Linked DNA regions of Homo sapiens: regions 1, 2, 3 and 4 are each linked to region 5. Evidence: promoter capture Hi-C in 16 types of primary human blood cells and fetal thymus (Javierre and others, 2016). All regions are on one chromosome and are shown on one strand. The core of a region is centred on a gene start or on the middle of the fragment in contact, and the rest is flanking DNA. Distances in the headings are between cores, read along the strand shown.

Region 1 (5,387 bases), core at 2,742-5,241, 360 kb before region 5:
GTTTTTGCTTCCCACATATGTGATCTTTGGTCATTTCCCTTCCTAAAAGCATCTCTTTTTCTACTATGTGAAATGAAAGTAACAATGCCTGCAGAGATGTGTTGAAGATTAAATTACTTAAATGTAACTGCCAAGGTTCAAAGCAGCCACTCAATAAATACGAGTTTCTTCCCCTTGCCTACCTCCACCTGAACTAGGCAAGGAAAGTAAAGGAAGGAATCTGGTTCAGTAATGAAGGGAGCCTCAGTGCATGCAATAAACACTCACTAACTGACATTTCTCTACTTCGCTGCCTAGGTAAAATCACTGAAGAGGAAGAACAGGAGGTATTAGAAATGCTTTACATATTCACCTCCCTCTCTGCAGTAACTTCTGAATTCCCTGTTTTATCTCTTTGGTCCGAACCCCATACACAATAGGGTTCAATGCAGGAGGAATAAGGTGATGAAGGACGTTCAGCAGGATCAGGATGTCCATGGGGACCTTCTTTCTGGCCACGTTTGTCAACACCACAACCAGCAGTATGGTGCTGAAGAAAAGAATGAGGATGAAGTGGGAGCCACATGTGCTCAGGGCCTTCACTGCCGCCCCCTCTGCTTTGAATCTAAGCACAGCTCTTAGAATGAAGGTGTAAGAGAGGAAGATGAGGAATAAATCTGAGCCCAGCAAGGTCCAACCAGCCACAAATTGGTAGATTCTGTTAAGGGTGAAATTATCACAGGAGAGCCTGGACACAGACAAGTTGGCACAGATGCAGTTCTCAATGACATTTTCCCCACAGTAATGGAGCAGGGAAGTGAGGATAGGAATGGGTGCAGTAAGAAGCGCATTCCGCACCACAATGAAGACACTAGCTTTGGCCACAAATTGATTAGTGATGATGGATGGGTACCGCAGTGGGTGGCAGATGGCCACATAACGGTCATAGGCCATGACCATAAACGTGCAGGACTCCATGGGGAGGAAACTGTTCATGATGAACATCTGGAGGAAGCAGGCAGGGAAGCTGATCGACCTAAGATCATACCAGAAGATGGCCAGGACCTTGGGGATGACGGTGAGGCAGAGCACGATGTCCAGCAGGGAGAGGAGGCTGAGCAGGTAGTACAGGGGCTGGTGCAGAGAGGCCTCCAGCTGGATGGTGATCAGGAGGGTGGTGTTAGCTCCCATGGCCAGGAGGAAGAGAAGGCTGAGGGGCAGGGAGAGCCAGTGCTGCCAACTCTGGAAGTTGGGGAAGCAGATGAGGAGGAATTCAGAGACTGGGACAGTGGAGCTGTTGCTGGGTGACGCCATAGGCTGAATCATGAGCTGAGTAGGCTTCTGATGACTATGTTTATGGGCAGATACAAGAGGTTATTTTTACAAATTGCTTTGAAAAGTATCCCTTTCACTTACTCTTTAGGAAGCCAATGATAGGTAGTTCACTTTTGCCAAGTAAGGCAAATTTCAGCCAATATTCTAAAGGTAGAATTGTGAGACTTGATAAATAATGGTGTGGTCTATGAAGAAAAATGAATGAATGAAAAACCTATGAAGTTTAAAAAAAAAAAGGGTAGTGACAGGCAGTAACCTCACTATATGTTAAAACATATTACAAACACGCAACAAATTAGGCCAGTATGTTACCAGTGTAAGAAAAGCAATGGTAGATGATAAGTTTTTTAATAAATCATTTTGGAGAAAAATAGCTTTAATTAGGTCTTTGCTTTCTACTATACACCAATATAATTTGAGATGGATATTTTTGTTACATCTCTTACCCAAACTCATGGTATACTAGAAGAAAATAGAATATAAATTTGATTAAGTCATCCCTTTGCTAAAACTTCAATCTATATGAATATAACTATTCATTTCCCACAACCTGAGCCTGAACATCCTAGTGCTCCTGGAATAAAACTGAAAAAAAAAAAAGGAAAGAAGAGGCTAGTTTTACTATAAATTTGTGATCATTAACCTTAAATGTGCCTTCAATAAATATTGCACCCTACAAATCTTCCCTAATCAACTTTCTCCTCTAGAAAAAATTATTTCCCAAATGTCTTCATTTTTTTCAAACCTGAAACTCTACTTCTTTCAGAAGGTGACATCAAATACCACGTCATGGAGAAAGTAGAAAGTAATCAGTAAAATTTTCCTCAACTTTTCAAAATAAAATCTACAAATCTAAAATCATAGTGAGATACATATTACCCTAGTCAGAATGGCTATTATCAAAAATACAAAAAATAACAGATATTTGCAAGGATGCCAACATGTATAAGGGAACTTTTATATGCAATTGGTGGGAATGTAAATTAGTACAGCCTCAAAGGAAAACAGTATGGAAATTCCTGAAAGAGATAAAAATAGAACTACCCTTACATCCAAAAGTCCTACTACTAGGTATCTACCTAAAAGAAAAGAAAACGATATATCAAAAAGATAATTGTACTGGTATGTTTATCACAGCACTATACACAATAGCAAAGATATGGAATCAACCCAAGAGTTCAACAACAGATGATAGGATAAAGAAAATATGGCATACACACAATGGAATACTACTCAGCTATTAAGAAGAATGAAATCATGTCTTTTGCAGCAACGTAGATAGAACTGGAGGCCATTATCTTAAATGAAACAAGCCAGACACAAAAAGACAAATATTGCATGTTCTCACTCATAAGTATGTGTTCAAAATGTGTACATATAGATGTAGAGAGTGAAATGATTGACAATGGAGACTCAGAAGGGTGAGGCGGGTGAGAGGGGGTGGATAATGAGAAATTACTTAATGAGAATAATGTACATCATTCAGGTGATGGATACCCTAAAAGCCCTGACTTAACTACTATACAATCTATGCATGGAACAAAATTGCACTTTGATCCTATAAATTTATATAAAATTTTGTAAGACTTATAAATAATGTGTATATACTCTCATCCTTTTCTTGTTTCCTTTCATTAAAATAAATAATCTGTCCATCTTCAAGAATTGATCCCATCTCTCCCAGCTTTGAATTCTGGCTCTTTCTCTAACTCTCCCCTTCCCTTCATGCACAAACCTCTCACAAGCATTTACACTCACTGTCTCCATTCCCTCACCTTACATCCATTCCACAACTCACTTCAATTTGGCTTCCATCTCCATTAGTTCCACAAAATAGCTCTCAGAAATCACCTACAGCTTCCCTATTGTTAAATCTTGTTGAAACAGTTGATCAAATCCTCTTCCTTGAAACACTCTCTTTGGCCTAATTCATATATCACAGACTTCTAGTTTACCTTGTACCTCCTGGTCACTCCCTCTCATTTTCTCGAACACATCCATCATCCACTACCTTGACGTCAGTTTAAAGCTTCAGTCCTACATTTTCTTCGCTTTTCTTCTTTCCTCTCTGATATTCTGTTTTCCCTTCTTCCACTTCTTTTATCTTGTCTATGTCATTAGACAATTACCATCTCTATTACTAAATTACTGAATTATGTTTCTTACTTAGACCTCTCCAGAAGCCTACTTTATGTATCAACCTGGGTTTCCCAAAGATATTCAAAGCTCACCAAGTCCAAAATTTAAAAACCTGGTCTTTTGCCAGCATCTCAGTGACTGGTGTAAATATTTGTCAGTTTTAGAAGCCAGCGCCCAGAAAATGTCTTGAACATTTATTCTACCCATTGAAAATGATACGAAGTACATGATGAAACCACTAAGACATGTCATTTTCCCTTTTAATTAGCCCTGGAATCCATCCACTTCTCCATATCCACTCTCACCATCCAAGTACTATTACCTCGAGTAAAAAGTAAATATTGCCTCCTAATGCAGTCTAGGTTTCTTTATAAACCATTCTCTACATTGAAATCAAGGAAATGTTTTTAAATATAAATATTACCAGTCATCTGATTAAAATATTTCAGTGGCTTCTCATTGCTAATATTATAAAAAGGAAATTTTTTACTTGAACTTCATGAGACCATAAGTTCATGAGGGAAGAAACCATGTGTGGTTTTTCTTTTATCATCACTATATAAACAGGGTATAGATAGATTGCTAGGTACACATAGTTAACTGACTACATTATGAAAGGAAGGAAGGAAGGAAAAGGAAGGAGGAAGGGAGGGAGGGGAGGAAGGAAAGCAGGCAATGCCATATATTATCTACCTCCTTCCTCATTTTCCAGTTCCATCTAACACCCCATCTCCCTTGCTCCCTGAGCTTCAGCCACACCGTCCTTTCAGATCTTCGAACGTTACATGAGCTTTCTGATCCCACTTCTCTTGGAAGGCTGTGCATCTTATGCTTCTACACAACACTTACTTTCTCCTCATCCTTTACATCTCAATTCAAATACTCTCTTCTCTGAGAGGTTTGTTCTAACCCCCTTTACACAAGATCAAGTCCTCCTATTTTATGTTTCTGTAGTACTTTGAACCATCCTCATCATCTGTAGTTATACATTTATATGATAAGTTGCTTACATACTCCTTCTTCCAATGCCCAATTAGACATTTCATGCCATGAAAATAACATCAATTAGCCCAGTGCTTGACATGAAATGGCTAAAAATATTTGTAGAGTGAGTTAATTAGACATATGAGCAGAATAATAGGAAGGCACAAAGGAAAATTTCTGAACTCAACCCTAGAGGAAAAGAGAAGCTTTCCTAAAGCTGCTAACAACTTAGCTGAGTTTTATTTCAATAGATGTGGAGGATTTACATGCATTAAATCTGTGTAGTGTATTGAAGATATAAAAAATGGATTATGTGAAAGCATGGAGATGAGTCTGAGAATAACTTTGGAAGGAAATTCTATGCAATATTTAATCTGACTGGAGCCAAAAGGATGAGGAGTTGAAAGAAAGAGCCAAAAATGGAGTTGATAAAAGAAAAAGCCAGATCTTAAGTACATTTTCTATGCTGAAGATTTTAGAACTAGTCATATGGATGAAAAGAAATGGAAAAAAATATTTCCATTAGAAGAGAGACATGACCAGATTTAGGGTACGTACAGAAAGATCACTCTGGACACATTATTATGCATGAACTTGGGTAAGGCAAGAGAGCAGAAATAGAAAGAATGGCGGCCGCAATAGCCAAGGTGAGAAGTGACGTGCAACTGAACAAAGGCTGAGGCACTGAGGATGGGAAGAAGGTGAATCTTCCAGAAGTCATATAGACAGAACTTATTGACAGATTTGTTTTAAAGGAGAAAATAGGTGAGAAGCCCAGAGTGACCCCCGGTTTACTAGCTTGAGTAAATAAGTTGCATCACCAAGATGTAAAATACAGCTAAATGAGTAAGATTAGTGTGTACTGGGATATGTCAAGAACGAGGTGTTTATAATCGCCACACATAGATTTGTTTTCGGCTGTTTCAAACTGAAGAGTTTGAGAAAATTAG
Region 2 (6,256 bases), core at 1,113-3,612, 330 kb after region 5:
AAAATTATCTGCACAGTGAAAAATTGTCATCTGAATATCCACTGGGTGAATGTGGGGGCTAGGCTCAGTGGATGAAGATTTAGTGGGACTATCACTGTCTTCAAAAAAGTTTTCATATGGGTCAAAAGCCTCATCTTCCTGATCTGAAGCATTTGGATGTACTTGGTGTTCTGTGTTTCTATCATCTTTGAAGACTAGGTATCTCAGCTCATAATCCATCATCAGTAGTTTCTGCAGGAAATAGAAGGGAAGCTCCTGTTCAGAGCTGGGCTGGGTGTTATACACAGACGTCTTATAGATGAGATGGAAATTAGCTTTGCTCAATTTTTTGGGGTAGTAATGTTCTAGACCTAGATGCTGGAGTAAGTCTAGGAAGGCTCCATTTTTTATCATCTCCCATTTGTTATTTTCATTGTCATGTGGTTCATGGGGCTGTTTCTTTCCATAGAAGAGACTTTGCTTGCTCACCTCTTCCATTTGCAAAGAAGAGATGGTGACTTCTTCATAATCCCCATTAATGAGCAATCTCAAGTCTTTCTCTAGGTTTTCCCAATCGTGATCTGCTCCAGGTTTGGTGAGGACATGTGCAACTTCTTTGGACAATGATTGTCCCATGTGATGTCTCATTAATGACATGCGTTGTGTTTTCTCTTCTGAAGAAATAGCTGTGTCTCCAACTGTGGCTGTCAGACCTGTGAGAACCAGGAATGCCTGAGCCCTATAGCTGCAAATATTCTTAAGCTCCTGGTATTTATTTTGGGCGGTTTGCATTTCATCCAGTAGGAAGCTTAACTCATCACACCCCAAGAGACTCTGAAAAGTATTGTTGATCACATGATATCCTGCAGCAGCTGCAATGGAAAGTAGCAAGAGTTGTGTGTCTGTCTGCTCTGTTTTTTGGAGATAATTCAAGAAGCAGCTGAGAGCCAAGCTGACCTCATAAGTGGACTTTCTTTGAGCTTCCTCCACTGTTTCTGGGGACTCAGATTTGACCTTTACTTCCATGAGGTTATTCTGGGTTTCTTTTAAGATCTCAATTAATTGAGAAAATTGGGAAATATTCACCTGCTCCTGCTCTGAATCTGACTGGAAGATCCACTGCATGATGAAGTGAGCCTGAGGAAAGTTTGTCACTCTGTAGATGTGAGGATCCAGAAGGCTGCGCAAATGAGATTTAATACATTTAGTTTTATAAATGGAAGACTTTTTGCAAAAGTTGATGGTGTTTACTAGAAAATTCTGCAGACTCTAATCTGTGAGACATATATTAATCCAAGTGTCATAACTTTTTAGTTTTTGACTCAACATTTTCATGAAATTTATCAGTTTTTTAAGTTGCTCTTCAGGATCAGATACCTCCCAAGATTTTACATCCTCTAGAAAAACCCTGGCCTCCTTCCCAGCACTCAGTAACTCTTCCCCATTCTGGATCTGGGCAGTGATGCTAGTCAGAGCAGTGTAGCTGTCTTTCAGGAAGTTAGCCACCTGAAGAGGATCCTTAAAATTGCTTCTGTGGCTAGAGAGGATAATGTCCCAAACTGGCACCAACTGAAGCCCGCGGTCAATGACACACCAGGTTTGATTGCTGGCAATGAGGCCAGCTTTCCACTGGACAAGGCCATCTGCTTCTGGTGGGCCACCTGTTTGGGCCACAGATAATTGGACCTTGGTTTGGAGGTTTTGGGAAGTTTTGGTCTGAGTGGCTGTCTTCGAATGAGAGTCTGAAACATTCACACCTGCAGCAACTTTCACTCCAAAGCCACTGTAGCTGTCCCTTATGAAAATGTCCAGGGCCTCTGCAGACTGCTGCCTCACTTCTGCCAACTGCTCCGTGCAATAACCCTCTGAAATGGCTTTCCACCAGTAGATTCCTCCCAGGTGCAGAGGGCCTTGGTTAACATGAGAGCCAAACCTGTGGAAGAAGTTTATGATCCTGTGCCTCAGCAAGGAGAACCTGTCTGGGTTTGTTGTCTGACTCAGAAGCTCTTCAATGCATTTCAATTCCTGGACAGCAGGCTTGGATAACTGGAGCTGATCAATGGGAAAGTGGCAGGAGGCCAGGGGGATATAGCTGAACTTGGTTGAGCAGAAATAAGAATTCTCAGAACTTGATTGTTGGGTTTCCTTGGATTCTGGATGTTTGCTGTGATCCAAACCAGCTTCTAGACTAAACCCCCAATTTCCGTCCTTGGCTGAAGTAGTTAAACGAAAGCCCAGCTTCTCTACCATCTGGGTAAACATGAATTCAGCCTGAGGAGATGTGAATTCCTTTGTTTTCATTTGTGTTCCTTGCTGAGGACCCAAAAGTAAGAACTCTTTGGGGACACTGAGCAACTCCTCTCTCTTCTCTGTCAGGCCCCTTTGGTGGCTGGCTTTGTAAATTCCCTGGAGGGCCAGCCCTCCAGATGCCCATCTCACCACATCTCTATCTGGAAGGTTTTGCCTGTGGCACAGTGTCCACTTCATGAGGTTGAGTTGTCTCTGCAGGTTTTCCATGAGTTCCCTTAGAGGCTCTTCAGGGGATGGCCAGTACTCTTCAGGGATGTCCATTGCTTGCCTCAGCTCTGCTTCTCTTGTCCTCACTGCCTCTTCCTGTCTCTGCTTCCCTTCTGTCAGCAAGTCCCTCAGCTCCTGCAGTGCCTGTTCTGCCTGCTTCTGCTTTCTCTTTGCCCTCTCCACCTGAGACTCCTGTAACGCTGAAAGACTTTTTGAGTGTGACAGATTAAGCAGCTTTCTCCCATGGATGTTGTGTCTGGGATTTCAGCTTCTTGAGGTTGTTTTTGTCTAGGTGTTGTAAGGCCTGGGCACAGGTCACACCCAGGTGTTCCTGCAGCTTGGGTAACCAGTACTCAACATCCAGGCCCACTTCTCTCAGCATCTCTTGGAGGTCTTGCCTCCTTTTGCCTCTGAGCAGAGGGTCATCAGGGGTGTGCTCTCCTGTGGCCATGGCTGCATAAAAAACAGACACTCAGTTAGCTGACTGTTCTGACCTTAGGAAGTGTCAGCCACATGGCCAAAAGTGTAAGTATACTAGTATGCAAGTCTACAAGGCTTTCTCATTCCTCATTTAATTGTTTTAACAAAAATTTTTTAACACCCTTTTTTGTGTGCAAGCCATCATTGTGGATATTTTCAATGTGGATTGCCTTTGTGGTTTGCAGGGTGGGTTGCAACTTACTAGACTTATTTTGACAATTCCTTTTACATAGAATCAATTGCATGTAAAACATTAAGATGAGAGACGGAGTTTGAAAATATGCTTGAGTTTGAGTTTGGTAGCTTGATTTTTTTTTTTTTTTTTTAAAGAGTGATGGAACCAACAGATTATCTAGTTTCTGTGAAATCTGTGTTGCCTGGTTTCCTTCCTGTCTCTGTGTCACTTCTTCCTAGGGCATTTCATGATATTTATTTGCTTTCCTGCCCTTTTAAATGTGCTACTAACCTGGTTTATGCTTGTCACTCCCTTCTTACTCTTAATTTTCCCTAGTTAATATCATCTTTCTGTTACATTAATAGCTGTCTCTCTGTTGATGCCACCTTCATCTGTGTCTGTAGACTCAAATGCTCCCCTGTATTTAATGTTTTATTAATGTTATGTTTTTCCCCTCACTACCTTCAGTATATATCCTTGACCAGCAGATGAGATGAGATTTTACATGTTTCAATTTCATACGTTATTCAATTTCCCTTCCTCCTGTAATTCTTGTCCTGCTGAATGGCACCACCTTACTTCCAGGCCAATGGGCGTCTTGTTCATCCTTCTTCTTAACATGAATTTAGTACATAATATCTTTTCCATTTGTCCTCTTAAACCTCTATTTAATTTCACTTCTTTTTGACACTCTATCCGTTCTCCCTTAGATGTTGCCTTCATCATGTCTATCGGATTGCTATAATAGTCATTCTATCTTCTATGGTTTGAAGGTTTGTCCTCTCCAAAGCTTATGTTGAAATTTAATTGCCATCTTAATAGTATTAAGAGGCAGGAGAGATGATTAGTATTGAGAGGTGATTAGGCCATGAGGGCTATGCCATCATGGGTGGGGTTAATGCTGTTATGAAAGGTTGAATTTTGTCCCCTTTTGCCTCTTGTGCTTCTGCCATGTGATGACAAAGCAAGAAGGTCCTTGCAAGATGCTGACACCTTGACCTTGGACTTCCCAGCCTCCAGAGCTTTGAGCCATAAATTTGTTTATTGTTAGTTACCATGTCTCAAGTGCTCTGCTATAGCAACACAAAACAGAGTAAAACACCATCTTGCAGTCATTTTTGTCTTGCGCATTTCTTCTTCCTCAATGTCTCTACAATTTAAATCTGCATGTTAATTAATGGTAAACTCAGCAGCTCAAACCAATCTTTCCAATGAAAGCCATTTGAAATAAGTAGAGAAATGTATAAGACAATTTTTTAAAGCCTTAAGTAATTTACCTGGTAAAAATATCTGACAGAAGAGGTAAATAATCTGAAGCAATAATGAATGAAAAAATTCCATTATAAATTAAAGACAAAGTTTAAGACCTTTGCAAACACTAAGTAAAAAAATTAAAGTAAAATAAAATAACTTTACAATCAGATGCATCAGAATAAAACTGCAGAAACAACAAGAACAACAACAAAACAACAAATACATGTAGAAAGTACAAATACAAGTAGAAAAAGAGTTTACCTTTAAAAACCTAACAGAGAGCTGATTTCTGAACAGCTATAGTGGAAGCCAAAAGAGAGTAGAATGGAGTATTTATTTCACTGAAAGAAAATATCAGACACAAATTTTATGTATAGTGAGATATTCTTAAAGAATGATCGTGGAAAAGGGACATTTACAACAAAAATTAAAGACTTACAGTTGCAAGATTATGGCATAGGGGCAAGCTGGCTTTACTGTCCCCACTCAGAAAACCAAAAACAAATATATAGCACTGAAATTTTTACCATCAATAACCCAGAGCTCAAGTATGAGGATGAGGCAGTTCCCAGGACCACACAGAAGTGGGAAAACTCTGAGCAGATGGTAAGAGAATCAAATTTCCACATCTGTAATGACCCTACACATTATTCTCTTTGGTACTAAGAACATAGAAAATCTCCCCTGACACCCAACTCAAAGTTTCTACACTGGAACAGGTGAAATTGAGGTGGTCAGTCAGCTTTCCCACTTTCTTGAGTCCCCTGTAAGTTGACCTGTCTTTGCCTTAACCCACAGGAAGCATCATGACTACCTAAAGGGATAAATATCCCTGAGGACAAGCAAAGACAAAGGGAGGAAGTGAGAATATCATCCACATCCTAGGGAATTCTGCTCTGTAACTTGGCCAAAGGAGATGCCAAATCAGAGTGGCTGTTTAGCAGCAGCACATTGTAGGAGGTATGTTCCATAGGTGCCCTGGGCATGAACCATTAGCCAGCCTTCCCACATTGCTGAGATAATCCTTTTGAGACCTCCCCCATTCAGGACAGGCAACGCTATAATCATTTACCAGAGCCGAGGTGAACTTAGGCTTAAGGCACCACCTAGACTGAAAAAGGAGGCAGCAATCTAGTGGTAAATATTCACTAAATAAATATACTAAATAAAAACCAGAACAAGCCAAAGAAAGAAAACTGGAATAAATAACTTCTCCTTCAATGCAAAGGCATTGGCACATGCCCACAAGAAACAACAACAATCAGGGAGCCATTACCTCCACAGAAAGACTAAGCAAAAATCCAGTGACTGACTCTAATGAGATAGTGATCTGTGAATTCTCTGCCCAAGAGAAACTCAATTATCTCAAAGGTAAAGCAGTTCAGAAGCATGTCAGAAAGTGTAACAAAGAGATTGAAACAATAATTAAAAAAAATTAAACAAAAATATTGGAACTGAGACATACGTTTGCTGAAACAAAGAACCCTTTAGAGGCTCTCAACACCAGAATGAACTAAGCAGATGAAGGAATCAGTGAGCTCAAAGACTGGCTATTTGAAAGTAGATAGTCTGATGAGAAAAAATAATGAAAAGGAACAAAGACTGCCTGCAAGATATAGAAAATTACCTCAAGGGACCAAAGGTAAAAATTGTTGCTGTTCAAGAGGGAGCTGAGCAAGAGTAAGAGAGTAAGTGGTAGAAGGCTTATTTAAAAAAAAACCCAAAAAACAAAAACAGGATGGGCATGGTGGCCCACACCTGGTAATCCCAGCAATTTGGGAGGCTGAGGTGGGTAGATTGCTTGAGCTCAGGAGTTTTAAGCCAGCCTGAGCAGCATGGCCAGGCCCTGTT
Region 3 (5,550 bases), core at 2,691-5,190, 280 kb before region 5:
GAGATGTAATAATTTTGATAATAAAATTCTTAACCATAATAATCTTTAAAAAGAAGTCATATTCTCAAGATATAGTGAAACTCATACATATTAATAAGGTTGTGCTGCCAGACTCCATGGTAAGCACTTTACTATTTTTATTTTTATTGTTAATATTTTAATAGTTTTGGGGGAACTGGTGGTGTTTGGTTACATGGATAAGTTCTTTAGTGGTAATTTCTGAGATTTTGGTGCATCCATCACCCAAGTAGTATATACTGCAATGGTAAGCACTTTAAAAACATTATTTTCTTTAGTACTACAAGACAAATTGGATAAATAACAAATAGACAATAAGATAAAATAGAAAATTAATGAGTAAGCTTATAAATGGAAAATGAGTGCTTGAAAATTAAAATTTACTAAACAATGAAGTGAACACTAAAACAAAATTGATATATCAATTTTCATTCTATTATATTAATAGAATAATTAATAAATATTTTAAATTAAAATTCCCAGTTTTGGCATGGACATGATGAAACAGACACACTCATGAACAAATTCTGTGTGTGTAAAGTACTACAATGTACCTATTTTAGTATACATCATTTTAGTATACATCAAGAGCATTCAAAATCCCCATACTTTCATACAGGGTCAGAATAACCTCTTTAAAAGACAATTTGTCTTGTCAAATCAATATCGTTTCATTCCATTTGACCCAGCAGTTCAGTTCTTGGAAATTATTATGTGGAGAAACTTATACATATGCATAAAGATACAAGAAAAAGTACATTCACAGCTTCATTTTTTATAGTAGAAAATGCTGGAAACAGATTAAAAGCCCAACAAATATACAACCTACAGAATCTTTAAGAAAGTGAGCTTACATTTACTTTTTATGGGTGGATTTTTCCGTGGGCCAACTGACACCTATTGGAGGAAGAAACATGTCTGATAACTTTTTGATGTTTTCTTGCAAACTTCCTTCTGTTTCAAACTCACATGTTTACTGAAAGAAAAACAATTTATGAGGAGAGAAAGGGAGAAAATATTTGCAAAATCTCTGACAAGGGATTAATAACCAGAATATATATGAAACTCACTAGAAAAAAACAGATAATCCAACTAAAAAGGAAGCAGAGGCTGGGTGCGGTGGCTCACGCCTGTAATTCCAGCACTTTGGGAAGCCGAGGCGGGTGGATCACTAGGTCAGGAGATTGAGACCATTCTGGCTAACAGAGTGAAACCCAAAATACAAAAAATTAGCCAAGCATGGTGGTGGGCGCCTGTAGTCCCAGCTACTGGGGAGGCTGAGGCCAGAGGCAGAGCTTGCAGTGAGCCCAGATTGTGCCACTGCACTCCAGCCTGGGCGACAGAGCAAGACTCCGTCTCAAAAAAAAAAAAAAAAAAAAAAGCAGAATATCTGAACAGATATGTCAAAAGAAGACATACAAATGGTGAATAGCTATATTAAAAACTGCTCAACATCACTAATCATTGGGGAAATGAAAATCGAAACCACAAGAGATATCATCTCATTCCAGTTAGAATGGCTATTATCAAAAATATGAAAGTGCAAGCAAAGGTGCAGAGAAAGGGGAATGTTTGTACACTGTTGGTGGGATTGTAAAGTAGTACAGCCATTATGGAAAACAATATGGAGGTTCGTCAAAAAAACTAAAAAGAGAACTACCATATGGTACAGCAACTTCACTGCTGGGTTTATATCCAAAAGAAAGGAAATCAGTAAATAGAAGAGATATCTGCACTGTCATGTTTATTGCAGCACTATTCACAATAGCGAACATATGGAATCAACCTAAGTGTTCATGAATGGATGAATGGATAAAGAAAATATGAGATATATAGAGAGAGATATATATAGATACATACACACTATATATACACACACTGTATATAGTATAGAGAGTGTATATATATATCCAATGTGATACGCACACACACACACAGTGGCCTATTATTCAGCCACAAAAAGGAATAAAATCCTGTCATTTGCAGAAACATGAATGGAACTGGAGGTTATTGTGTTAAGTGAAATAAATCAAGTAGAGAAAGACAAATATTACATGTTCCTACACATGTTTGGGAGCTTAAAAAGTGGATCTCAGCTGGGCACGGTGGCTCACGCCTGTAATCCCAGCACTTTGGGAGGCCAAGGCAGGCAGATCACCTGAGGTCAGGAGTTTGAGACCAGCCTCGCCAACATGGTGAAACCCCATCTCTACTAAAAATACAAAAATTAGCCGGGTGTGGTGGCACACACCTGTAATCCCAGCTACTCGGGAGGCTGAGGCAGGAGAATCGCTTGAACCTGGGAGGTGGAGTTTGCAGTGAGCCGGAAAAAGAAAAAAAGTGGATCTCACAGAAGTAATGAATAGAATGGTGGTTACCAGAGGCCGGAAAGGGTGGGGGTAGGGGAAGAATAGAGGGTGGCTGATGGGGACAAAAATACAGTTAGGTGGAAGAAATAAGTTCTAGTATTCAATAGCACAGTAGGAAAATTATAGTTAATAATTTACTGTATGTTTCAAAATCGCTAAAAGAGAATTGCAATGTTCCTAACACAAAGAAAAGATAAATGCTTGAGGTGATGGATATCCTAATTACACTGATTCGATCATTACACATTGTATACATGTATCAAAATATCACATGTACCTCCAAAATATCTACAAATATGATATATCAATTCTAAAAATACAAAAAAAAATCATTAAACTATAGGGCATCTAGGTGGTAGAAAATAATGCAACTTAACTGCAGTATGGAAATATGGAGCAGTCTTCAAAATATTAAGTTAAAAAAGAAAAGGAAAGAAAAAAGGAGAAAGGTGTGCTAACAATTGATTATGTCTTTTATGAAAATTATATATATATATATATATATATATATATGTTTTTATCCATGCATAAACTATTAATGGAAGGATTCCCAAGAAACATATTACTGGCTGCCTCTAGTGAAAAGGAAAAAGATTTCAAAGCCCCAAGCATGAGAGTCTTACTTTTCATTGTTTATATTTTTCATTTTATTTTGATTTTTACCATGTATAGATAATATATCTTAAAATAAAATCAAAATTATATTTAAAATTTTAAGACTATTATATCCTTTGTATATATAATTTTTGCATCACTTTTGAAACTCTACTCAAGGAAAACAATATTAAAAGCAAAATACCTGTCAGTAAATTATAGAATAGCCAAATGCAAAAATTTAAAGCAGCAATTAAAATTAACATCACACTTTTTAAATAATATTGTGAAGTCTTTGGTTAATGTATTCATCCATGAAATAAAATTTTTGAGTGCTTATATTACATCTTAACACATACTGCTAAAAGACAAAAACAAGATACAAAATCATCTCTAGATAATGATGTAGACTGTTTAAAAATAAAATAGAAAATTGGAAATAAATCAAATACTAACATTTGTTATCTGTTAGTGATAAGACTGTTGTTAATATATGTGGACATGCTTATTAGACATACAAGTGGTGATGAAAAATAGTTATTCCAACTCTTCTGTTTAGAATTTTTTTGCTTTTTTTGTTATTCCTCTGTGGAATATTTCCAGAAGTCAAATAAAGTTGAGGGTCATTCATGAATAAAAGGAGCTGGTTCATTATTGAGGAGCTCTTACCAAGACACTTAACTTTTTGTTTTGTTTTGTTTTTTAAGACAGGGTCTCACTCTGTTGTCCAGGCTGGGGTGCAGTGGCACAATCTCGGCTCACGGCAACCTCCGCCTCCCAGGTTCAATGATTCTCATGCCTCAGCCTCCCAAGTAGCTGGGATTACAGACAGGCACCACCACACCCAGCTAATTTTTGTATTCTCCGCAGAGATGAGATTTTGCCATGTTAGCCAGGTCAGTCTCGAGCTCCTGACCTCAAATTATCTGCCTGTCTCAGCCTCCCAAAGTGCTGGGATTACAGGCATGAACCACGATGCTCAGCCCCTTAGCTGAACTTTTAAACAGAGATTTCTTCTATTTCAGACAGACACTGAGACTGAGGCACCCATTCCATGGATACCTCCACCAGTGTTACCTATGACTCCAGCCTCCAGATTTCCCAGTTCATCCTGATGGGATTACCAGGCATTCATGAGTGGCAGCACTGGCTCTCCCTGCCCCTGACTCTGCTCTACCTCTTAGCTCTTGGTGCCAATCTCCTCATCATAATCACCATTCAACATGAGACCGTGCTACATGAACCCATGTACCATTTGCTGGGCATATTAGCAGTGGTGGACATTGGCCTGGCCACCACCATCATGCCCAAGATCCTGGCCATCTTCTGGTTTGATGCCAAGGCCATTAGCCTCCCCATGTGTTTTGCTCAGATCTATGCCATCCACTGCTTCTTCTGCATAGAGTCAGGCATCTTTCTCTGCATGGCAGTAGACAGATACATAGCCATCTGTCGCCCTCTTCAGTACCCCTCCATAGTCACTAAAGCTTTTGTCTTCAAAGCCACAGGGTTCATCATGCTCAGGAATGGCCTGTTGACCATCCCAGTGCCTATACTGGCTGCCCAGAGACACTACTGTTCCAGGAATGAAATCGAGCACTGCCTCTGCTCTAACTTGGGGGTTATCAGCCTGGCTTGTGATGACATCACTGTGAACAAATTTTACCAACTGATGCTAGCATGGGTCTTGGTTGGGAGTGATATGGCTCTGGTATTTTCTTCCTATGCTGTAATCCTTCACTCTGTGCTGAGGCTGAACTCAGCAGAAGCAATGTCCAAGGCTCTGAGCACTTGTAGCTCCCACCTCATCCTCATCCTCTTCCACACAGGTATCATTGTGCTGTCTGTCACACACCTTGCAGAGAAAAAGATTCCCCTTATTCCTGTGTTCCTTAATGTGCTGCACAATGTCATCCCCCCTGCACTCAACCCCCTGGCCTGTGCACTCAGGATGCACAAACTCAGACTGGGCTTTCAGAGACTGCTTGGACTGGGTCAGGACGTGTCCAAGTAACTCCAGCTTTAGGAATCCAGTAAGATGTTAGGAAATGACAGAGGTTTTAGTTCTCAATAGATCAGGGTTATAATCTGCACTTACCACACTCCCTAGGAAAAAAATGGCCAATAAAATCATGAAAACTGTCAGCCTCACTAATCAAAATATGTATATTAAAATTACAAGAAAATTTCCTATTACCTGGAAAATAAGTAAGAACAAAAAAGTGAAATGTTTCTAACTATTACTGCTAGCCTACCCCGAGATTAACACTTTCCTACACAACTGGTAGGACTATAAACACACCAAAAAGCAATTTGGTAAAATTTATCAAAATGTTTATAAATGTTTAAATGTTCTTAACCAGTAATTCTATTTTAGAAAAATATCCAAAAGAAATAGTCTAAATGCAGTCAAAAAGTTATTCATAAAAATCATTATAATATGACTAATAATAGAAAACAAAGCCTTTAATATTTACACATATTTAACTCTTACATATTTATGTGCTTTTCATATGTAATTTTTATAATAAAAAGTAAACAATAAATGTTTATTAAAAAGGAGTAAAGT
Region 4 (5,839 bases), core at 2,798-5,297, 380 kb after region 5:
AGAAGATTAGGAATCAGTTGCCCACAATAAGACAACTCACTCGTTATTGAGTCTTTTCTTTGTCTGTTTCCCTCTTGCAAATTCTACTAGTTTTTCCTGGAATTACTTCCTAAATATATTACGTATTCAAATTCTTGCTCAGAATCAAATTCTGAGGGAACCCACATTAAGATAAACTGATTGTTCCTCAGCAAAAAAACAAAGCTGGAGGCATCATGCTACCTGAATTCAAACTATATTACAAGGCTACAGTAACCAAAACAGCATGGTACTGGTACCAAAACAGAGATAAAGACCAATGGAACAGAACAGAGCCCTCAGAAATAATACCACACATCCACAAACATCTGATCTTTGACAAACCTGACAAAAACAAGAAATGGGGAAAGGATTCCCTATTTAATAAATGGTGCTTGGAAAACTGGCTAGCCACATGTAGAAAGCTGAAACTGGATCCCTTCCTTACACCTTATACAAAAATTAATTCAAGGTGAATTAAAGACTTAAATGTTAGACCTAAAACCATAAAAGCCCTAGAACAAAATCTAGGCAATACCATTTAGGACCTAGGCATGGGCAAGGACTTCATGACTAAAACACCAAAAGCAATGGCAACAAAAGCCAAAATAGACAAATGGGATCTAATGAAACTAAAGAGCTTCTGCACAGCAAAAGAAACTACCATCAGAGTGAACAGGCAACCTACAGAATGGGAGAAAAATTTTGCAATCTACCCATCTGACAAAGTGCTAATATACAGAATCTACAAAGAACTTAAACAAATTTACAAGAAAAAAACAAACAACCCTATCAAAAAGGGGGCAAAGGATATGAACAGACACTTCTCAAAAGAAGACATTTATGCAGCCAACAGACACATCAAAAAATGCTCATCATCACTGGTCATTAGAGAAACGCAAATCAAAACCACAATGAGATACCATCTCACCCCAGTTAGAATGGTGATCATTAAAAAGTCAGGAAACCACAGGTGCTGGAAAGGATGTGGAGAAATAGGAATGCTTTTACACTGTTGGTGGGAGTGTAAACTAGTTCAACCATTGTGGAAGACAGTGTGGCGAGTCTTCAAGGATCTAGAACTAGAAATACCATTTGACCCAGTGACCCCATTACTGGATATATACCCAAAGGATTATAAATCATGTGACTATAAAGACACATGCACACATATGTTTACTGCAGCACTATTCACAATAGCAAAGACTTGGAACCAACCCAAATGTCCAACAATGATAGACTAGATTAAGAAAATGTGGCACATATACACCATGGAATACTATGCAGCCATAAAAACGGATGAATTCTTGTCCTTTGCAGGGACATGGATGAAGCTGGAAACCATCACTCTGAGCAAACTATCACAAGGACAGAAAACCAAACACCACATGTTCTCACTCATAGGTGGGAATTGAACAATGACTACATATGGACACAGGGCGGGGAACATCACACACTGGGACCTGTCGTGGGGTGGGGAACTGGGGGAGGTATAGCATTAGGAGAAATACCTAATGTAAATCACGAGTTAATGGGTGAGCAAAACAGCATAGCACATGTATACCTATGTAACAAACCTGCACGTTGCGCACATGTACCCTAGAACTTAAAGTAAAAAAAAAAAAAAAGAAGAACTGTTTGTAATTGTTTTCCCTTGCCTGAAAATTGTCTTTGAATTCATGCTGTCTCTGCCTACTTTGGAAGTATTTCTCTGATACCAAAGGCAGAGAATGACACTACAAGAAAACAAAATTACAGGCCAATTCATCTAATGAACATAGATGCAAAAATTCTCAACAAAAATATGACCAAACCAAACTCAACCGAACATTGAAAAGATCATTCACAATGATCAATCTGGGATTTACTTCGAGGATGCAAGGATGGTTCAACGTGTGCAAAACAGTAAATGTGATATGCTGCATTTATACAGTGAAGCTTCTGCATAGCAAAGGAAATAATCATTAGAGTGAAAAGACAACCTATAGAACGGATACAAATATTTTGAATCATACATCTAATAAAGGGTTAATATCCAAAATATATCAGGAACTCAACTCAATAGCAGGAATAACCTGAGTAATACATGGGGAAAGAACCTAAATTGACATTTCTTAAAAGAAGACATAAAAATGGCCAACATGTATATGAAAAGGTTCTTAAGATTCATAATCTTCAGGGAAATGGAAATCAAATGAGATATCACCTTACATGAGATATCACCTTCCGTCTTTTAGATTGGCTATTATCCAAAAAACAAGATATGAAAAGTGTTGGTTAGGAAATGGAAAAAAGGGAGCTTTTGCACACTGTTGGTGGAAATGTAAATTGGTACATTTTACATTGTACCAATTTAAGCAGTATGGAAGTTCCTCAAAAAGTTAAACATAGAACTACTGTATGATCCAGCAATCCCAATCTGAGTGTACACCCAAAGAATATAAAATTAGTATGTTTAAGAGATATCTGCACTACTGTGTTCATTGCAGCATTATTCTCAATAGCCAAGCTATGGAATCAACCTAAGTGTCCATCAATGAATGAATGGATTAAAAAATGTGATATATATATATAGATATAGATATAGATATAGATAGATACACACACACACACTCAGAATAGAAAGTCTTACCTTCTTTAAAAAAGAAGGAAATCGTATAATTTCCAACAACATGAATGAATCTGGGGAACATTATTTTAAGTGAAATAAGCCAGGTATAGAAAGAAAAATATCACATGATCTCATTTATATGCAGAACCTGTAAGCTGAATTTACAGAAACAGAGAGTAAAATGGTGGTTACCAAATGTTGAGGTAGGGGGATTTGGGAGATGCTGGTGAAAGGACACAAAACTTCAGTTAGACAGGAGGAATAAGTTCAAGAGATTTATTGTAGATCATGGCAATTATAGTTAATCAGATTATATTGTGTGCTTGAAAATTGCTGAGAAAGTAGATTTTAACTTTTCCTAATGCAAAAAAGATAAGTATGTGGAGTAAAGCATATGTTAGTTGGCTTGATTTAGCAATTCCATAAAGTATACATATTTCAAAACATCATGTTTTACTACATTAAGACATACATATTTTGTCAATAAAAATAATAAACAAATGTTTCATTTCTAAAAGGAAATAATAAAATAAGATTTTTTAAAAAGGCTTTTTACTATTTATCCATATAGCAGCCAAAATGTTTTAAGCACAGTTTACTAAGCTGTGGTCTCAGTACCTGATATTAATTATCTTATTTAATCTACCCAACAATATCACAAGAGCAGGCCAGTAAATATCACCACTTTTAACATCAGCAGACTAAGGTACAAAGAGTTTAATTTAGCGTTCAAAGATGCATAGATGACCAAAGGAAGAGAGGGATTCAAATGCGGGCACTCTGGTCTGCTTTCTCATCACTACTCTAAAATATTCCCTCATAGCAAGGAAGAAGATTCACCAAATTTCAAATGGAAAAAACACAGGACCTTCATCATCATGGACATTTAAATTCAGTAAAATGCATATATGTGCAACAAAAAAGAAAAATTTATAAGTGATTTTTGATTTATTCTAATTTTTTTAATTTTCTCAGTTTTTATAACAAAGTTGGATTAATTTTATAGATTAGCTTTATCTTTTATTTTTTATGGTTTAGCTTTATAGATTAAATAATGTAATATTATTTCTATAAAGAAAACAAGAATTATTGTGTTTTGACAAAGCACTATTCTCAAGAATAATAACACCTATGTAAGCCAAGATATTTTGGGAATTCTGCATTCAACAAATTTAAGTTCCCAAATTTTGCTATAAATCTTCCCACACTGATGAGTAGAATAAAAAAAATAAGGCTTATTTAGGCTAGCTAGAAAGCAAATTATAAATTTTATACTTCCTTTTCTATGGAAACACACATGTACATACACTCACCTCAAGAATATAACCTCTTTCAATTGTTTTAATGTTTAAAAACACATTCACATATCTGCAAGTCCACATTTTAAAAAACTTAGACAATATTCCCAACAAATTTCTCTCATTGTTATTGTACTCACTTTAAAACTGGTACTTTCAATTCTATTTTATTCATTCTTTATTTTAGTTTTAATTTTAGGCAATGTAAAAATGCCCATTTTCAAAAAGACTGTCAAAATTTCCAAGTAGAAATATCTTTCTTTATCCTTTTCCATTCTTTCTTTCTATTTATTTATTTATTTATTGAAACGGAGTCTCTCTCTGTTGCTCAGGCTGGAGTGCAGTGGCGCGATCTCAGCTCACTGCGACCTCCGCCTCCCAGGGTCAAGCAATTCTCCTGCCTCAGCCTCCCGAGTAGCTGGGATTACAGGCACCCACAACTATGCCCCGCTCATTTTTGTATTTTTAGTAGAGACCCGGGTTCCACACGTTGGCCAGGCTGGTCTTGAACTCCTTACCTCAGGTGATCTGCCCACCTCAGCCTCCCAAAGTGCTTGGATTACAGGCGTGAGCTACTGCGCCTGGCCACACTCTTTCAATGTAATTATTTATCATTACTCAAGTAACCAATGTGAAGGTCCCTTAGGTCTAGAGTACAAATGCAGTCACATAACTCTTATTCATTTCCACTAACTGCTCAAATAATCATCTACTTAATAAACAGGAAGTCTAATATATCTTCTGAAAATTCTTCCCTCTATTAGTAGTTTAAGAATCTGCTTCAAAGGGAGTAGTCCTCCTCTGATGCTGAGAGGCTATTGGAATTTGGTCAGTCCAAAACTACTGCTGCTTCTCACTGCTATGTGATGTTAAAATGGAAAGCTAATCCCCTACCATGTCTACTTGGTAATGTGTCAGGACGATGCCTACCACAGAGTGAGTCTACAACACCCATTCAAGGCTTTTCCCCCATCTGGTTATTTTTATAACATGGGTTTCCAAAGTCAGGATGATGTGTGCCAAATGAGTTTAACTCAAGATCATTGTACACACCAGATTCACAGTTGAAAATAAAAGTAAAATTTAAAAAATGTATCTATCATCTCAGAGTACAGTATTGAAGAATGAGTGAGTAGAGAATTTTATTTGGAGCAGGAATGAGTGAGTAGAGAATTTTATCTGGAGGAGGAATGGTGAGAGGCAAGCCATGATCCTTCCCTAGAGCGTGGAATGTGCCAGCAGTATGTATTTTCCCAGGACCCTCCTCAAGGCCCGCATGACCTCCTTATTCCTCAGGCTGTAGATGAGTGGATTCAGGGCTGGAGTGACAATTGTGTAGAAAACAGAGATGATGTTGTCTTGTTTGGGGCTGTGGAAGGAACTGGGCAAGACATACATGAATGTGGCAGCTCCATAGAACATCCCGACCACAATCAGGTGGGAAGAGCAGGTGACAAGGGCTTTCTTCCTCCCCTCATTTGATGGCATACGAAGCACAGTGAATAGGACTAGTGTGTAGGAGGCCACAATGGCAGAAATGGGGAGCAAGAGGAAAGTCACACCTGTCACGTATATTATAAGCTCATACCTGGAGGTATCAGCACAGGCCAACTTCAGCAAGGGTGGGATCTCACAGAGCAGATGCCTGATTTCCCAGGACACACAGAAAGGGAGGTGCATAGTGTACATGGTATGTCCTATAGCAATCAGGGATGCCAGGATCCAGGATGTGGCCACCATGATCCAGCAGACTCTTGGGCTCATGAGGGTCATGTATTTCAGAGGATGACAAATGGCCACATACCTGTCATAGGCCATGAAGGCCAGTAGGAGGTCCTCAGCGCTACCCATTGTCAGTGCCAGGAACATCTGAAGTGCACAGCCTCCAAAGGAGATAGTGTTTTCTCTGCGC
Region 5 (5,426 bases), core at 2,927-5,426:
GGGGAGCTTCCAGGCTATAGGGAAATTTAAACATTTTCTGGTTGACAATTGGTTGAGTTTGTCTAAAGACCTGGGATCAATAGAAAGGAAATGTTCAGGTTAAGATAAAAGATTGTGGAGGCCGGGCACAGTGGCTCACACCTGTAATCCCAGCACTTTGGGAGGCTAAGGCAGGCGGATCACGAGGTCAAGAGATGGAGACCATCCTGGCCAACATCGTGAAGCCCCATCTCTATTAAAAATATGAAAATTAGCTGGGTGTGGTGGCAGATGCCTGTAGTCCCAGCTGCTCGGGGGGCTGGGGTAGGAGAATTGCTTGAACCCGGGAGGCGGAGGTTGCAGTGAGCCGAGATTACACTGTTGCACTCCAGCCTGGGCGACAGAGTGAGACGCCATTTTTAAAAAAAAAAAAAAGATTGTGGAGACCAAGGTTCTTTGAAGTCTCTTAGTGGCTGCCCTTAGAGACAACAGTCGACAAATGTTTCCTATTCAGACCTTTAAAAGGTGCTAGACTCTCAGTTAATCTCTTCAGGATTGGAGGGCCCAGAAGAAAAAGATCTGTGTTATTAGAGATTCTTTACAGATGTAAATTTTCCCCCATAAGGTACGACTTTGCAGGGCCATTTCAAAATATGGCAAAGTGGCCGGGTGCGGTGGCTTACTCCTGTAATCCCAGTACTTTGGGAGGCCAAGGCAGGCGGATCACCTGAGGTCAGAAGTTCGAGACCAGCCTGGCCAGCATGGCAAAACCCCATCTTTATTAACAATACAAAAATTAGCTGGGCATGGTGGTGGTGGGTGCCTGTAATCCCAGCTACTCGGGAGGCTGAGGCAGGAGAATCCCTTGAATCTGGGTGGGGGAGGTTGCAGTAAGCCAAGATCACCCCATTGCACTCCAGCCCGGGCAATAAGAGTGAAACTCTGTCCCGCCCCCCACCCCAAACCAAAAAACATATATATATATATATATATATATATATATATATATATATATATGGCAAAGAAACATGTTTTGGGGTAAAATATTTTGACTTTCTTCTTTATCACGTAATTTTATGCCAGAGTATGACTGAAAAGGCAGTCACAATATATAGTGTTAAATAAAACCCAACTGATAAGAATTTATGGTTTGTAGGGCATGACTCCCCAGACCCTTTCGATAGGAATTTGAGCAAGATAAGAAAAAATCAGAGCTTAGTCCTCATTAGGAACTGCCTCTTCTTCTCCTTTAAAAACCCACTTGTGACTTCTGCTAATTGGGAGCATATACTCAGGGCAACTTGAATCTTCGCTTCACAGTCTTCAAACTTGGCCCAAATAAACTCTCTACTTATATCAAGTTTGCCTTAGATTTTTCCCTTTAGGTTGACATTTCCCAGAAGTTTTAATCAGATGAAGAAAGCTCCCAGAAGGTTTATTTCTGCATCTATTGAATCTGAAATGTCTTCGGCTTAAAATAATTGTTATACCAACTCTGGTGTTCTGAATGGGTCCCCACACAGCAAAGAATAGAGCCAGAATGTTGCATTTGTGAAAGGAAAATAAAAACTCAGGACTCCAGTTGACTATGCCAAAAGGAAAAAAAATAAACTGAAAACTGAGTCATGCAAGAAGCTGCCTTTCCTTTTGTTCCTAAGCAGATAGCTACAGACAAAAGGTTAAATATTTACAAAATTAGCCGGGTGTGGTGGCACATGCCTGTAATCCCAGCTACTCAGTAGGCTGAGGCAGGAGAATCACTTGAACCCGGGAGGCAGAGGTTGTGGTGAGCCGAGATTGCGCCATTGCACTCCAGCCTGGTCAACAACAGCGAAAACTCTGTCTCAAAAAAAAAAAAACAAAAAAAACACAAAAGGTTAAATATCTCCACAGGCATATTTACTTTATCTTATGTAAAGTGCCAGACGAACACATAATTGAGTATCTCCCTACCTGCTCCTTTTCTCTTGCGACATGTGGATTACCATACCCTTCTTCTTTCCCTCCAGCTCACTTTTCCCCTTTAAATATTGAAGCCCTCAAAATCATCTTTGGAGAAAGCCACAGACCACAGACTGTTTCTGCGATTCCGTGTTTATTTCTTCCAGCCATGTCCTTAACCTTGGCAAAATAAACCTCTAAATTGATTGAGACCTGTCTCAGACATGTTTTGCTTGACACATCCAAATTCCAGTTCCAGCACTTACTAGCTAGCTGTGGGATCTTGAGCCACTTACTTAATCCTACTTTCCTTCTCCGTAAAATGGGGATAATTATAATACCGACTTCCAAATTTGTTGTGAGGATTAACGTAAGGCAGAGTCCTCAGAAAAGTACCTACAGAGGGTTATTCGGGCCAAGGGCCAAGGTTGAGGACTGCGACCCAGGACACACTTGCAAGTTGTCTTGGGGGAGCACTCTGGACAACAAAAGAGAGGCTCATATTTTCAAAGAAAAAAAGATGAATTAGGAGAGGAAATGAATACAAAAGTTGTTCATCAGGAATTCTCATTGTTTACAGAAATAACACTGGTTATACATTGTTTAGCGCTTGGCTATACATTGTTGAACTATAAGGTGTATGGCATTTAATGGCTACTTGGCATAGCAAGTGGTTTCAAGAGATAATTACTTAGCTCAAAGAAGAGTGAGAGTGACTGTTGCTACATTTTAAATGCCTGTCTGGGCCTGATAATTTAAAGGGGCTCATCTTCCTTAGATAAAAAGGTTTTGTTTTGTTTTGTTTTTCATAGTACATAATCTTAAAAATGCATGCTAATTATTACTGTGAGTACTCTATCTGAGATGATGTCCCCAGAACTGGGGGGAAAAAACACTTGTAAAAAATTATCAAAGGAAAGAACTGACAGGACTTGATAGCTCTGAGGATTCCTCAGAAGCACTCGTCAAACAGCTTAGGGTTTAATTGCTATTCTGCCACTTAACTTCTTTGTGCCTCATCCTATCTGTAAAGGAGGGTAATAATAGTATTTGCAGGGACCAAGGGAAACTTTCCCTTCGCCCTCTGAAATTCTGCTGAAAAATCAACCCACAAAAAACAGATTAATTGAAGAAAAGGCATAGAAATTGTATTAATGTGTCCACGGGGAACCACAGAGTGACTACCCACTTCCCAGACGAGTTCAGAAGCTTAGGTGTCATTCAGGCAAAGGGGGTTGTGGGAGTGAGGGGAAGAGGAATTCTGCTGAGGGAGAAGGAATGGATCAGGGAACAGATTAACTAGCACATTATCATGTGAAGGGGTCTGTTCAGGTGTGATTATATTCTTGGTTTTGTAGGGAGGGGAAGAAAAAAACCGTTGTTCCTTTTGATGGGTCTGGACGCTAGGTAACGGCTTTGGGAGAGAGGGCGCGGGAGTAGGAAGGCCAGACACACCTTAAGGCTTAACTTAGTAAGTCAAACCACCATATTTTGGGTATGGATTTCTGAGCCCCAATATAATAGGTACTTCTTAGGGTTGTTGTGAGAATTGAAGATTATTAATTATAAAGTGCCTGGGTTGGTGCTTGGCACATCATAAACAACTCCATAAATGCTCGCTTTTACTGTCGTGGATACACGGAGGTGGGAGACCCAATTGGGTTCCCGCCCATGTTATTGGCCCCCACGGCTATATGGTCTTTACGGCTTCCTAGTCTCTTCACCATCTCTAAGGTTTGTTTCCTCATCTGAATCACAGGTGAGTGATTCTCAGGGTGACTCAAGAGGGCTGGTGCCAGTGGCAGAGCATGGGGAATCGAGGGAAGGCGCCTTCCTGTCAGAGGCAACACACCCAGTGGGAGGATCCTGCCCGCCCTGCTCTCTCCTACCTCCCCTTCCCGGGCTAAACGCTGGGGTCGGTCTGGCAGCTATTCCGGGAATCTGAGCGCGGATTCTGACAAAGGAGACGTCTTCCACCGACCACATCACATGGAGCTCCAAAGCACGAGCACGGCCTCCCGCGGCTGTGACCTCAAGGCGGAGCCCCTGGTGACCTCAGGGAGAGTCCCCACCCCCGCAGCCCGTGCGCCCGGGGCAGGGCGGGGGCAGGGAGAGGGGGCGGAATCGGGGCGGTCCCGGGAGCGCCCCGCCCCCTCCGCCTCCGCAGCGTTGACAGCCGCCCGCCACCGAGAGATCAGCTGTCAGAGATCAGAGGAAGAGGAAGGGGCGGAGCTGCTTTGCGGCCGGCCGCGGAGCAGTCAGCCGACTACAGAGAAGGGTAATCGGGTGTCCCCGGCGCCGCCCGGGGCCCTGAGGGCTGGCTAGGGTCCAGGCCGGGGGGGACGGGACAGACGAACCAGCCCCGTGTAGGAAGCGCGACAATGCCCCGCTACGGAGCGTCACTCCGCCAGAGCTGCCCCAGGTCCGGCCGGGAGCAGGGACAAGACGGGACCGCCGGAGCCCCCGGACTCCTTTGGATGGGCCTGGTGCTGGCGCTGGCGCTGGCGCTGGCGCTGGCGCTGGCTCTGTCTGACTCTCGGGTTCTCTGGGCTCCGGCAGAGGCTCACCCTCTTTCTCCCCAAGGCCATCCTGCCAGGTTACATCGCATAGTGCCCCGGCTCCGAGATGTCTTTGGGTGGGGGAACCTCACCTGCCCAATCTGCAAAGGTCTATTCACCGCCATCAACCTCGGGCTGAAGGTGAGCACTGAAGGGGCTGCAGTGGAGGAGGCCGAAAGGAGTGCTGGGGCTGGGGGCTGGGGCTGATGCTGGTGCGCTGGGCTCAGAATGCATCCCTGATGGAGAGGGTGGCATCTACAATCCATCACTGAGTTTGCTCCCCTTTGGGGACACCCATGGCTACATGCCACCATCACCCCATTGTGACCTTTGTGAAGTAAGAAAATAATGCAGACAGTGCCTGAGGAAGTCAGCTTGCCAAGCAAAGGCCTCATGCCACAGGCCGCTGAGCTAAAGAAGAAGCGATGGCCTGGTGCTGCCTGAGTTACAGGGCAATATCTGGAAGGCAAAGGTGTGCACTGAGCTTGGTGCACTGAGTCCTGCCCAGCCCCAGTTTGGAAATGGAGGCCCAAGGGGTGGTGGCCAGGGGTTGGCCTGGTTCCTCTGCTCTGCCTCTGATTTCTCACCATGCGCTCCTCCCACTGCAGAAGGAACCCAATGTGGCTCGCGTGGGCTCCGTGGCCATCAAGCTGTGCAATCTGCTGAAGATAGCACCACCTGCCGTGTGCCAATCCATTGTCCACCTCTTTGAGGATGACATGGTGGAGGTGTGGAGACGCTCAGTGCTGAGCCCATCTGAGGCCTGTGGCCTGCTCCTGGGCTCCACCTGTGGGCACTGGGACATTTTCTCATCTTGGAACATCTCTTTGCCTACTGTGCCGAAGCCGCCCCCCAAACCCCCTAGCCCCCCAGCCCCAGGTGCCCCTGTCAGCCGCATCCTCTTCCTCACTGACCTGCACTGGGATCATGACTACCTGGAGGGCACGG

What was found. The method cuts DNA at HindIII sites, captures the fragments that hold promoters and counts their contacts. A CHiCAGO score of 5 or more calls a contact.
Region 1: a fragment that was not itself captured here is called in contact with the fragment with the promoter of SMPD1 in region 5 in 4 of 17 cell types (monocytes, neutrophils, M0 macrophages and 1 more); the score reaches 7.8 in monocytes.
Region 2: a fragment that was not itself captured here is called in contact with the fragment with the promoter of SMPD1 in region 5 in 9 of 17 cell types (activated CD4 T cells, non-activated CD4 T cells, naive CD8 T cells and 6 more); the score reaches 18.1 in activated CD4 T cells.
Region 3: a contact is called between the fragment with the promoter of OR56B4 here and the fragment with the promoter of SMPD1 in region 5, in 5 of 17 cell types (neutrophils, M0 macrophages, M2 macrophages and 2 more). The highest score is 14.3, in neutrophils.
Region 4: a fragment that was not itself captured here is called in contact with the fragment with the promoter of SMPD1 in region 5 in 1 of 17 cell types (non-activated CD4 T cells); the score reaches 5.5 in non-activated CD4 T cells.

What each region holds. Positions count from the first base shown.
Region 1 is chr11:6,026,400-6,031,786 of GRCh38, forward strand. OR56A1 (olfactory receptor family 56 subfamily A member 1) reads right to left here and starts at 4,359. Exons shown (of 2, transcript NM_001388488.1): 1 at 4,303-4,359; 2 at 1-1,327. The coding sequence starts at 1,293. The coding sequence ends at 349. The region is part of intron 1 of LOC107984303 (a long non-coding RNA gene); the gene reads left to right. The HindIII fragment of the contact is 1,300 bases long and covers 3,342-4,641 here.
Region 2 is chr11:6,718,934-6,725,189 of GRCh38, forward strand. It overlaps the pseudogene GVINP1. Among named protein-coding and RNA genes, the nearest start is that of MRPL17, 39 kb to the left of the region's middle. The HindIII fragment of the contact is 3,154 bases long and covers 786-3,939 here.
Region 3 is chr11:6,103,744-6,109,293 of GRCh38, forward strand. It overlaps OR56B4 (olfactory receptor family 56 subfamily B member 4), which reads left to right and starts at 3,941. Exons shown (of 1, transcript NM_001005181.2): 1 at 3,941-5,092. The coding sequence starts at 4,036. The coding sequence ends at 4,995. LOC124902622 (a long non-coding RNA gene) reads right to left here. Exons shown (of 3, transcript XR_007062565.1): 3 at 244-994. The HindIII fragment of the contact is 4,106 bases long and covers 361-4,466 here.
Region 4 is chr11:6,762,862-6,768,700 of GRCh38, forward strand. It overlaps OR2AG2 (olfactory receptor family 2 subfamily AG member 2), which reads right to left. Exons shown (of 2, transcript NM_001004490.2): 2 at 2,765-5,839. The coding sequence ends at 5,146. Among named protein-coding and RNA genes, the nearest start is that of OR2AG2, 6.2 kb to the right of the region's middle. The HindIII fragment of the contact is 4,187 bases long and covers 1,955-5,839 here.
Region 5 is chr11:6,386,298-6,391,723 of GRCh38, forward strand. SMPD1 (sphingomyelin phosphodiesterase 1) reads left to right here and starts at 4,177. Exons shown (of 6, transcript NM_000543.5): 1 at 4,177-4,619; 2 at 5,087-5,426. The coding sequence starts at 4,302. LOC124902624 (a long non-coding RNA gene) reads right to left here and starts at 4,059. Exons shown (of 2, transcript XR_007062573.1): 1 at 3,810-4,059. RefSeq lists a silencer at 3,894-4,393. The HindIII fragment of the contact is 7,977 bases long and covers 3,128-5,426 here.